4 separate regions of the Homo sapiens genome follow, and all the other regions are linked to region 3. Evidence: promoter capture Hi-C in 16 types of primary human blood cells and fetal thymus (Javierre and others, 2016). All regions are on one chromosome and are shown on one strand. Each heading gives the region's core, a stretch centred on a gene start or on the middle of the fragment in contact. The rest is flanking DNA. Distances are from core to core; before and after follow the strand shown. Region 1 overlaps CCDC39 (coiled-coil domain 39 molecular ruler complex subunit). Region 2 overlaps TTC14-DT (TTC14 divergent transcript). Region 3 holds the start of PEX5L-AS2 (PEX5L antisense RNA 2). Region 4 overlaps CCDC39 (coiled-coil domain 39 molecular ruler complex subunit).

Evidence for each region. Contacts are between HindIII fragments. The CHiCAGO score rates a contact against its expected background, and 5 or more counts as called.
Region 1: a contact is called between a fragment that was not itself captured here and the fragment with the promoter of PEX5L-AS2 in region 3, in 1 of 17 cell types (endothelial precursors). The highest score is 6.8, in endothelial precursors.
Region 2: a contact is called between a fragment that was not itself captured here and the fragment with the promoter of PEX5L-AS2 in region 3, in 2 of 17 cell types (endothelial precursors and M2 macrophages). The highest score is 9.5, in endothelial precursors.
Region 4: a contact is called between a fragment that was not itself captured here and the fragment with the promoter of PEX5L-AS2 in region 3, in 1 of 17 cell types (endothelial precursors). The highest score is 6.1, in endothelial precursors.

Annotation. Positions count from the first base shown.
Region 1 is chr3:180,662,215-180,664,914 of GRCh38, forward strand. CCDC39 (coiled-coil domain 39 molecular ruler complex subunit) reads right to left here. Exons shown (of 20, transcript NM_181426.2): 2 at 1,653-1,772. Among named protein-coding and RNA genes, the nearest start is that of CCDC39, 16 kb to the right of the region's middle. The HindIII fragment of the contact is 933 bases long and covers 809-1,741 here.
Region 2 is chr3:180,582,559-180,585,258 of GRCh38, forward strand. It overlaps TTC14-DT (TTC14 divergent transcript), which reads right to left. Exons shown (of 3, transcript NR_183700.1): 2 at 1,790-2,099. Among named protein-coding and RNA genes, the nearest start is that of TTC14-DT, 18 kb to the right of the region's middle. The HindIII fragment of the contact is 2,281 bases long and covers 138-2,418 here.
Region 3 is chr3:179,896,776-179,899,475 of GRCh38, forward strand. It overlaps PEX5L-AS2 (PEX5L antisense RNA 2), which reads left to right and starts at 1,419. Exons shown (of 3, transcript NR_110059.1): 1 at 1,419-1,576. PEX5L (peroxisomal biogenesis factor 5 like) reads right to left here. Exons shown (of 15, transcript NM_016559.3): 3 at 1,367-1,471. The HindIII fragment of the contact is 5,337 bases long and covers 1-2,700 here.
Region 4 is chr3:180,640,597-180,643,314 of GRCh38, forward strand. CCDC39 (coiled-coil domain 39 molecular ruler complex subunit) reads right to left here. Exons shown (of 20, transcript NM_181426.2): 13 at 1,397-1,605. Among named protein-coding and RNA genes, the nearest start is that of CCDC39, 38 kb to the right of the region's middle. The HindIII fragment of the contact is 1,080 bases long and covers 749-1,828 here.

The DNA of each region.
Region 1 (2,700 bases), core at 25-2,524, 770 kb after region 3:
AACTGTGCTAGGAGAAAATACTGTCAATAGTTTTCAGATACTACGCTGGTCTAGGAAAACTAAAGAAAACCAAAGTTTCAGTTAGACTTAAAACTTATTATCTACAAATAAGAAATATCCATTAAAAAACAGTTGAGAAATGACATGTTTTATATGAATTGATCACATATTCTAATTAACAGACATTATTTTTAAATAATTATTTAAACACCAATGGTTGTGAATATTCTCTAGAATATATTAGCATATAATCACATCTTTATGTTCAGTTTTATGTAATAAAAGAGTATGTGTTAACTAATTTTACAGTGCTTCAAAGTTATCACTTAGTATTAATTTTACAGTACTAAAGCTACCATTGTTGGAGGTTTATTATTCTTTTGTCTCTATTACTCTATTCATTTGAGGTTTGATGATAATAAGATACAACTACAGAGTCTCTGCCTCTCCAATCCCCAGCTCAGTAGTTTAACAACTTAAGGAAAAGTGTTGTTCCAAATAGTTTATCAATTACTCAATCACATTGAGATTCAAGAATTCTGAGTTTGTTTTTAAGTTTATTAAATTTGTAACTTTCTAATAAGACTTGTAAGTCATGAAATACTTATCTATATTGATTATAAATTGCTTTTTAAAATATGGCACTGTTCATTTTTTTGAAACTACATACTATTTCTCAGACAGTAGATGCACTTTAAAAAAACTAGTTTGAGACAGAAGTTAGAAAACTCTCCAATGCTGTTTGCTGAGCTGCCTGGTTTGCTGGGCATCATTAGGGAGTGAGTTTCTACACTTGAACAGATTATGAAGCTTACTTAATAACCACAAGTTTTAATTTTTATTATATTTATGTTAACATTTCTAAGATGCCTAATGTCTTCCCCAGTTATCTTAAATAAAGTCTCTTAAGTATAATCTAACTTTTTAATCTCAGGATTATTATTATGAATTTCAATTCTTGAACAATGCTAAGATGTGTAGACTACTGGCCTCCACTCAAAATGGCCCCAGTGAGTTGTGCTGAAAAATTAAAAAGGAGACAGAAATTTTATTATGTATTATATTAGTTCTGTTTCTGCTTATAGCCATCATTTCTCACCACCATCATTGTACCTTTCTCAAATAACCTGCTGTCTAATACAGATTGTTTGAATAATGATTTCTCCTTTCATATGGATTAATTTTTTGGTTAAAATTGGAGCAGTCGCAGCACTTTGGGAGGCTGAGGCGGGAGGATCACCTGAGGTCAGGAGTTCGAGACCAGCCTGACCAACATGGTGAAATCCCATCTTTACCAAAAATACAAAAATTAGCTGGGGGTGGTGGGTGCCTATAATCCCAGCTACTCGGGAGGCTGAGGCATGAGAATCTTTTGAACCCAGGAGGCAGAGGTTGCAGTGAGCTGAGATCACGCCACTGTACTCCAGCCTAGGAAACAGAGCGAGACTTCATCTCAAAAAAAAAAAAAAAATTGGACCAGTAGTTAGTTCCTCTAAGCCTTTTTCTATCTACTTTCATGTTCAAGGTTATGTTCACAATAGTTTAATTATGCTAAGGTTTCCTATTATAGCTGTAAAAATCGCAGATGTAAATATACTATGAGATGTTCCATGACTACACGATATAATCAACATAAATTTCAGTTACTGTACCTGTGTAATTGAGAGCTCTTGCTTAACATTTTTGAAGTGAGAAGTCATAGAATTAATTCGCTCTTCATACTCACGTAACTCATCTTGCAAGCTTGCTCTTTCATCCTTCAGCTTTGACAACTGTAAATAATAAATACTATGATTAACCAAAGTCCTATTAAGTTTTACCATATGAAGGACCTAAAATCAAAGAAAATTAAATTTTCATTTACATTGTCTTAGTCAATTTGGACTGCTATAACAAAAATATCATAGACTAGGTAGCTTAAACAAAATTTAATTTGATTCATGAGAAATTCCTCACAGTTCTGAAGGCTAGGAAGTCCAGGATCAAGGTGCCAACTAATATGATTCCTGGTGAGGGCCCTCTTTCTTATTTGCAGACAGATGCCTTCTTGCTGTATCTTCACATGACAGAGAAAGAGATCATCTCCCTCTTGTCTTTTCTTAAAAGAGCACCAACACCATTCATGAGGGCTCTACCTCTATGACCTGTTTACTTCTCAAAGGCTTCACCTCGAAATACCATCACATTGAGGATTGAGACCACCATATGAATTTTGGGAGGACACAAACATTAAAAACATAGCATTTTGTTTCTTTAAATGTCCACATGAACTTCTAAAATCTACTAATTCTTTAAATGTTATAAAATAGTGTTGTGATTTGGAGATTGCTGTGGGAAAATTAGCACCATATTACACGGAATGGAAATCTCTCTTAGATTTGCAGCGGTAGCAGATCTACTCAAAAATGCATTTTTCATACAGCAATACTATATTTTTATAGGGCAAAAATGAGATTCTACTCCATTATTAAACCACAAGAGATCTTTTTTTTTTTTTTGAGATGGAGTCTTGCTCTTGTCACCCAGGCTGGAGTGCAGTGGCGCGATCTCGGCTCACTGTAACCTCTGCCTCCCGAGTTCAACGAGATTCTGCTGTCTCAGCCTCCTGAGTAGCTGGGATTACAGGTGCCCACCACTACACCTGGCTAATTTTTTTTTTTTTTTGGTATTTTTAGTAGAGAAGGTGTTTCACCATGTTGG
Region 2 (2,700 bases), core at 28-2,527, 690 kb after region 3:
TTATCACCACCTTTTGACTTTCATAAACTGAATCCCTAATTCCTATTACAGAACTCTTATGTAATGTTAATTATAACATTAATATTCTTATCTATTTTATCTATTATATTTCCCTGAAGACTGGCACGTATTTTTTAAGCTTGCTGTTGAAATGGATTGAAAGGAAGTATGCTACACATATGACAGGATACGCCTATCAACTTTATGGCTTAAATTTTTTTTTCTTAGGTTGGGGCAATCCAAATATTTTGTTTGATTAGCAACATTAGTAGATATTGTGGTTCAGAAGAATATGGCAATCATATATTTATTACTAGTTTGAACTGTTGTCCAATATAAAATACTGCTACTATAAGTGAAGAGCCAGGGAAAGGCAGATGAGATGAGAAAGTGTCTTGACTAATTTAGTATTCTCCATTCAAAGCAGAAATAACATTTTGCTTCATGTTGACGATTTAATATACTCCACAGCCTCAAGCTAATATTGAATAGACACTGCTATTAATCCATTACATATGTTCAATGTAGTTAATCTTTTAAATATTGTATCACTAAAAAAGCTCATCAGGGCTCATGAATTCAGACTAATTGAAGAAAAGCCTAACATGGTAAAAAGTTAGAGTGATAAATCATCTTAAATTAATCTTAACACCTAAAATATACAGAGTAATTACATGATACCTAGTTGACTTCTTCAGAACTTGCTTCAGTGAAAAAATTTGAAATTAGCATACTTGTTGCTGTGTCCTTCTGAACTATATAAAGACCTAAGGAAAGTTCGTTCTTATAAATCATGAGATGTAAATTCACTGAGTGTAGATTTCAGTGTGCATCTTAAAATTATTTCCTTTATTCATTTATTCACAAAAAATTCAAGCAGTCCTCTTTTTAAGACCTGGAGAAGTGAAAATATAAATTTATAAGAGCATAGTGATGCTTACCTAGAGATACTATGGCAGGGTTCCACCGTGGTTGCACTAAAAGGTAGTTTCTGTGAGTGGTAGACTAGAAAATAATCCAAAATCTTAGAGTAAGTCCCCACTCATGTAGATGCCAACAGCCTTCAGTTCCCTTCACCACCGACTTCCTAAAATTCCATGTATTGCAAAAATTCTAAAATCTTATCATGATACTAAATTGGGCATTCACTATCAAGCAACAAATTGTTCAAATGGCTAATCTGATTTTGTCTTTTAAAATTACTGCATTTTCCACTTATTTTGAATACCAAAATGAAAGGAGTATGTATCACTCTGGCTCCTGGCAGAAAGAGACGGCTCACTCAAACTGTATAATTGAGAAGAATTTAATAGAGGCGCTATTTACAGAAATATGGGAAGGGCTAAGGGAAACCTGTTAGGGATAATGTTTTATTCCAGAGCTTGCAATTGTGAGAAGGTATAACACCCCTGGATCTGATGTGTACAGGGAGAAGATGGCTACTCAAACCTGGAGAGGAAAGGGAACTTGACAGGATCAATAGCCTTTAAAAGAAGAACCATTCAACCTTTTGTGATCTAGCAGGGAGAGCCCCTAGAGTATATATGTTCTGACCTCCCTCTCTAGGGAGATTGCCACTGGCTGAACACAATCAGAAGCCAGAGGGCAAATGTGTTGTTTGATACAATCCTTACAGGTAAGTCCCCAGGCACAGAGAAGGTTGGAAAAAAAAATAGAGAGTGAATCTGGAGAGCAAGTGTGAAATACTCAAGGTAGTAGGACTCTTGCTGCAGGTAACAGAAAATATAATCAAGCTAATCCAAGCAAACAAGGGAATTCATTAACTTACGTATCTTAAAAGTATAGGAGTAGCTCTATCTTCATGCCCAGCTCAGCTTGATCCGACATCTCAAAGGACGTCACTGGGATTCAGTATCTTTCCATCTCTCAGCTCTGTTCTCCTCCATGCAGACTTCACTCAAAGCCTCTATGTGGTGGCAAGATATCTGATAGTAATTTCAGCTTGATATTCAGAAGTTAGCCAGGTGTGGTGGCGCAGGCCTGTAGTCCCAGCTACTCAGGAGGGTGAGGCAGGAGAATCGCTTGAACTCGGGAGGTGGAGGTTGCAGTGAGCCAAGATCGTGCCACTGCACTCAAGCCTGGGCAACAGAGCAAGACTCTGTCAAAAAAAAAAAAAACAAAAACAAAAACCAACAACAACAAAAAAACCAAAAAAATTTAAGTATCCCTAAATTAGATAGCATTTTATAATAAAATCTTGTATAAATTTAAGTTCACGTCCCAAAGAAATTATAGTATGATGAGGTAACAATGGTAGAGCTGCTGTATTTTAACCAGGTATACTACTACATGAACTTGCAACCCACAGTGAATTTTTCCAAGTGAGTGGCAAGGAACTATTAGAACTGAGCTTAGATGTGTATTTTCCTTAAATCGTCCTGATGTTTAGAGAAGAAAAGCTTTAACCAAGTAGACATAGTATTCCGTTCTCTCAGATCACACTGATAGGGTAGATGGAGATTTTTATTGCAGCTGTGTATGTGCAGATAAGACAAAGTGAAGTATGCAAGTATTTAATCATCACATCTTTAAAATGATACAGAAGATCATTTCTTTTTAGCTGTCTATGATGCTTTTTTTACCTTTCCTTTCAATAAGATAGCTACATATTACTTTGTAAATTGCTTTCCTACACAAAGTGCATTAGCTTCACACGAATTCGTTGGCTGGTTTCATACT
Region 3 (2,700 bases), core at 169-2,668:
TAGCATTCACCTGAGGGACTGTGGACTTAAAATTTTGGACATGGGAGTCTACAGAGGTCTGACTCTGATTCAGTGTAAAACTGTATATGTTTTACTATGTATATTAAGTAAAGAATGAGGAATTTGGTAAATATCAAGCAAATTTCTTTCCAATGATTACCATGTGTTATTAGGAAGTAGCATCTCTTCTTTTGGGATAAAAAAAGCTGAAAACATAAAATGTATCCCAAAGTCTTGGGAATCTTTAATAGCTTTAAAAATTATTTAATTTTGATGTTATATGTTATAATTTTTATAACTTACAACATAGTATTTAGAATAAAGTAAAACCACACATGTTGGCAGCAGCTGGGGATGAGATCCGCTGATATTCTAAAAATAAGTTGCCATAATTTAGCTTTTGATATAAATGTCTTTCATGAGGACTGTAAATGGACATTTTTCGAATTCTAGGCATGTTCATATAATCGGAACTGAATCATATAATCGGAACTGAATGGAAAAAATGAAATGTTTAAAATAATCTAATCTAAATTATAAGATAAATGCAAGTAAAAATATTTCTCATTTGCGATTTTAAAACTGGTAGTTCCACAGAGTGGTGATGAGTACATTATACATATTTATGTAGATTTTACAGGGTGTTTCAAAAGTCCCCGAGGACATATAGGATTCACAGTCTCCACATGTCTTTGCATACAAATGAAGACTTTTTTCTATACTTGTTATAATAAATGCTGAAAATGGCTCTCATGTGCTTATAATAGAGATGACATTTTTGTTCTCAAGGTCACTATGTATAAGAGGGGTCACAAATGCCATTTTCTGCATGGGGACTCAGGGACTTCTGGCTCATTCCTGTAAATTAGTTATCCACATAAATATGTATAGACATATATGTAGTATGCATAGTCACAACATAAATATATTTAACATTTAAGAAAATTTAGATATTCTACTGGTAAACTGACATATGTATACAATATAACTTGTTTTTATTCATAGGAATTTGATTTTTTTTTGTTCAAATGTACTGTTAGCTTAATTGTTATTTCTTTCCCAAAGTTTTTAACAAGACTCCTTTATAAAGAAGCAACATGTTTTACTTGCACATATATTCTCTTTCTCTTTTGTCTTAACTAAAGTTGAGTAATGAAATTAATATTCACAAATAAATAACTAGATGGTGAATTTTTCTTTTTTTAGCAATTTTGGTTTTCATCTATATTTGTATAATTGTTTCATTGAAACTGTCTTTAAAAAAATTGGTTCAAGAGTTAAAGTTTTTTTTTTCTAGTTAAAAATCACAATGTCTGATATATTAACATATGTCAGCTTCCTACAGAAACCCTATGGGTCTGCCCACCTGTGATGTCATAGTAAGGAGGGGCTTTTCTTCAGCAGACTCCTCCCTCGGTATCTCCTTCATCACCATGGCAACAGCCTTATCTGCCGCCCTAGAGCCTTTTCCCTATAACAGTGAAATCAACAATGACTGTGTCAGGAGAGATCTTTAACTTATTATTTATTACAAGATATTCTAATGTTTAAAGAGCAATCCAACATAAATGAAGAGGTAGGCTGCTGCAAGTGAATCTTGAGGCTTTTGGCTGAGGAGAAAACACACAAAATCTGAAAAAAGATTATTTGTGAACTTTTAGTTAGCTACTTTTTCCCCTTTACAGCTGACATATTACATTTAATTTTAACATAGTATTTTATATGTATAATATGTTTTAAGGAAATTAACATGACATGAATTTTTTGTAATATCAATTTAAAAACACTATGGGTTGCCTGCTACGTTCATTTATAAATTATTACTACATAATTCCTAAATATTTTGAATGACAGGAGTTTGGGATAGAGATTAGAAGCAGGATCCAACTCCCACAGAGGGCTTTTGCTGGGTGATCTCTGGAGTCTTTGCCATTTTTGAGTGGATTGGGATAAAAAGAGTAAAAATGTTGCAAAATATCTAAAAATCCTCCAGTGGCTTGACATAACAGTAATTCACCCAGTCTGTTTTGTGGAGATGGTATAAACTTCATGAAAAAAACATTTTGCAACTTTCAATGTTTTTGAGACCAAATAATTTTAATAGAGTTTTAGAAGTGTCTTTTAACTGAAGAACCCCATAAATACAGACATAAAGGATAATTAATACGTAAAGGATAATCCATAACTGACGTAAAGGATAATTAATATTGTGGCACTAATCTATATCTCTCTATATATCTATAGATACAAATGTATATGTATATATATAGATAATATGTATACAAACACATACATATCCCTATGTTATTTGTCTCAAAGAAGTAGAATTATAAACTGTAAAGGGATATGGTGGCTTTCTGTTATTTGAGTTTACCAGATTATTACATTTTTTGAGACTAGATATGGTATAATGGGAAAGCCCCCCAAAATATTACCTTTCCATCCCAATTAGAAAAATTTCATACTATGTAAAAATTAAATAATCCTTAAATACTTTAAAAACAAAAACTTCAATTTTCTCAGGTCTCTGGGTAAAGCCTCCCTGAAGAAAATAATTTTATACTAAGAAAAGATATGAATATTTGTGTTGTAAATCTACTTAAAATACAAATGTAGCAGACAGACCTATCACAGGCAGAGAAACGAAAACCGACATATGGGGGTCTAATATTGGAAAAGGGAATTAAGAGCCAGGGTTGA
Region 4 (2,718 bases), core at 39-2,538, 740 kb after region 3:
GGAATCATCTCTAAAAATACTACAACTATTAACTAATAAAATTATAAACAACTGTATGGCAATAAATTTGAAATTTGGATAAATATAGAAAATTTTTCCTAGAGAAAAATAGAATTTACCAAAACAGAATCAATAATAAATACAAAATCTGCATTGTCCTATAAACAGTATATAAACCAATAGTTGAAAATGTTCCCCCATAGAAAACTTCAGGCTCCCAATGGCTTTTTTTTCCAGTGGGGTCTTTGAAAAACAAAAAAGATATAATTCCACTCTTTTAGAAACATATTCAATGTATAGAAAAATAAGAAATACACACAAGTCATTTTATGAAGTCAGACATAACCTTAATAGCCTGATACCCTGACAAGGACAGTAGAGCAAGGAGAATTATGGGTCATTTATACACATGAACATAGATGCAAAAATTGTATTAAAATATTCCCTAACAAAATCTAGATGTATGCAAAAGATAATATGTAACAGACAAGTTGGGTTTATTCTAGAATGTAAGGTTGGTTTGACTTTGAAAAATTGATCAATATGATTAAACACAACAGATTGAAGAAGATACATCTTGTCAATAAGTGCTGAGAAAGCATATAATAAAAGTCAACATCCATTCTTGATTAAACAAAATAACTTCTTAGTAAAGGATAAAAATAGATAGGAGCTCAATGTGGTAAAAGGTATCTAAAAAATAGAAATAAACTACAGTAAACCTTATATTTAATGCAAAAACAATGAAAGCTTTCCCTTTGAGATCAGATAATAAGACAAGGATACCTGTAATCAACACTGCTCTTCAGTATTGAACTGGGGAAAAAAGAAAAGTTATAAAGATTGGAAAGCAAGAAATAAAACTGTTATTATTTGAAAATAATATAAATGAAATACAGTATATAGAAAATTAGAATGTACTGATTGTTAGAACAAGATTGTTAAGCAGGGTTGCTGAATACTTAATATACAGAAATTAACTGCATTTCTACATACCAGCAGCAAACCAAAAATGAAATTGACAGTAACATTAAAGAAAAAACATGTAGCCAGAAATAATCTTATAAAAGATGTGCAAAATCACTTCAATAGATGCAGCTATTGAATATCTATTTTTAAAAAGACGTGTTATTGGACTTTACCACAAACCATACATAAAAAGCAATTCCAAGTAGATTAGTGATCTTAATGTAAAAGGGACAATCTAAAGAATGAAGAATTAACCAAAAGAAGAGCCTAGATTTATGGCTATAACATGCCCTATGTCTTTCTTATATGAAAAGCCATTTCGAATGAGTAAAAACGATGCACATCCGGGATGTTAGAGGGGGCAGCTAGTTCTCCTGACATCATCCTGTTTTTTTAATTCCTCAGCAGTTTTAAAACTGAAAATTACCTTATGTTTTCCCGTTCTTGATCAACATATCTTATTTGTGACGCAAGCATTGTTTTATGAACCTTGATTTCTTCAGTTCGCTCTTCCATTGCTGTGTATAATTGCTGTTTTCTTTTTTCTAGGGAAAGAACTTCTTCTGCCTTACTGTGAAGCATTTCTCGAGTACGCTTAACTTCAAGTTTTAAAAGATTGTCCTCTATCATCAAATCCTATCAACGTAACAAAATGGTCAAATATTGAAATTATTTTTAATTGCAAAACCAAAATTTTTTTTATTGCTATATAAGTAAAACTTGAAAATATACCTTTTTCCAATTTAACCATTGACTAAGATATTAGCTAGGCCTAAAATTGATCATAGTTTTTTTTTTTCTTTTAAGAAAAGGGTTTATAGTTATTCCAAATCTTTTTCATAATTCAATTTTAAAGTCAAGCTTTGCTATTATAAAAAACAAAGGGAAGAAGTTATTCCTGAAGTTAAACTTACGCTATCCAAAAAACATAAAGCCCTATGAATGGCCATTTTTATACTCTGAATCTCACAAAATAATGTGGAAATATATTTTTATTTTAAAACAATTCAGTCGTGAATAGAGTACTGACATAAGAGTACACATATCAATCAATTTTCAGAATAGAAACCCCAGAAAAAAACACTCCAGGATATAAGATTTTATTGTTTCATAAACGTGGCTTTTCATTTGGAGAGATTAGATACTTACATCTCACGTGCACCAAAAATATATTCTAGATGAATGAAAAATCTTAAGAGATGAAATCAACGTAACTACTAGAAATAGTAAACATTTGTCTGATTTTTAGTGTAACCAAGAAGTTTCTAAGCATAAAAATTAAAAAGAAAAAAAAACTAAGAGATTTGATGTTTTAAAAAAAGTTTTGTGTCACAAACACTGAATAAAAATGTAAAGGTAAATGGGGAAAATATTTACAATATTTATGACAGAGATAATTTTTTTTTTTTTTTGAGACGGAGTCTTACTCTGTCGCCCAGGCTGGAGCGCAGTGGTGCGATCTCCGCTTACTGCAAGCCCCACCTCCTGGGTTCACGCCATTCTCCTGCCTCAGCCTCCGGAGTAGCTGGGACTATAGGCGCCCGCCACCACGCCCGGCTAATTTTTTGTATTTTTAGTAGAGATGGGGTTTCACCATGTTAGCCAGGATGGTCTCGATCTCCTGACCTCATGATCCACCCGCCTCGGCCTCCCAAAGTGCTGGGATTACAGGTGTGAGCCACCGTGCCCGGCCGACAGAGACAATATTTTTACATATGAAAATCTTTTATAATTTATATATGTAAACTT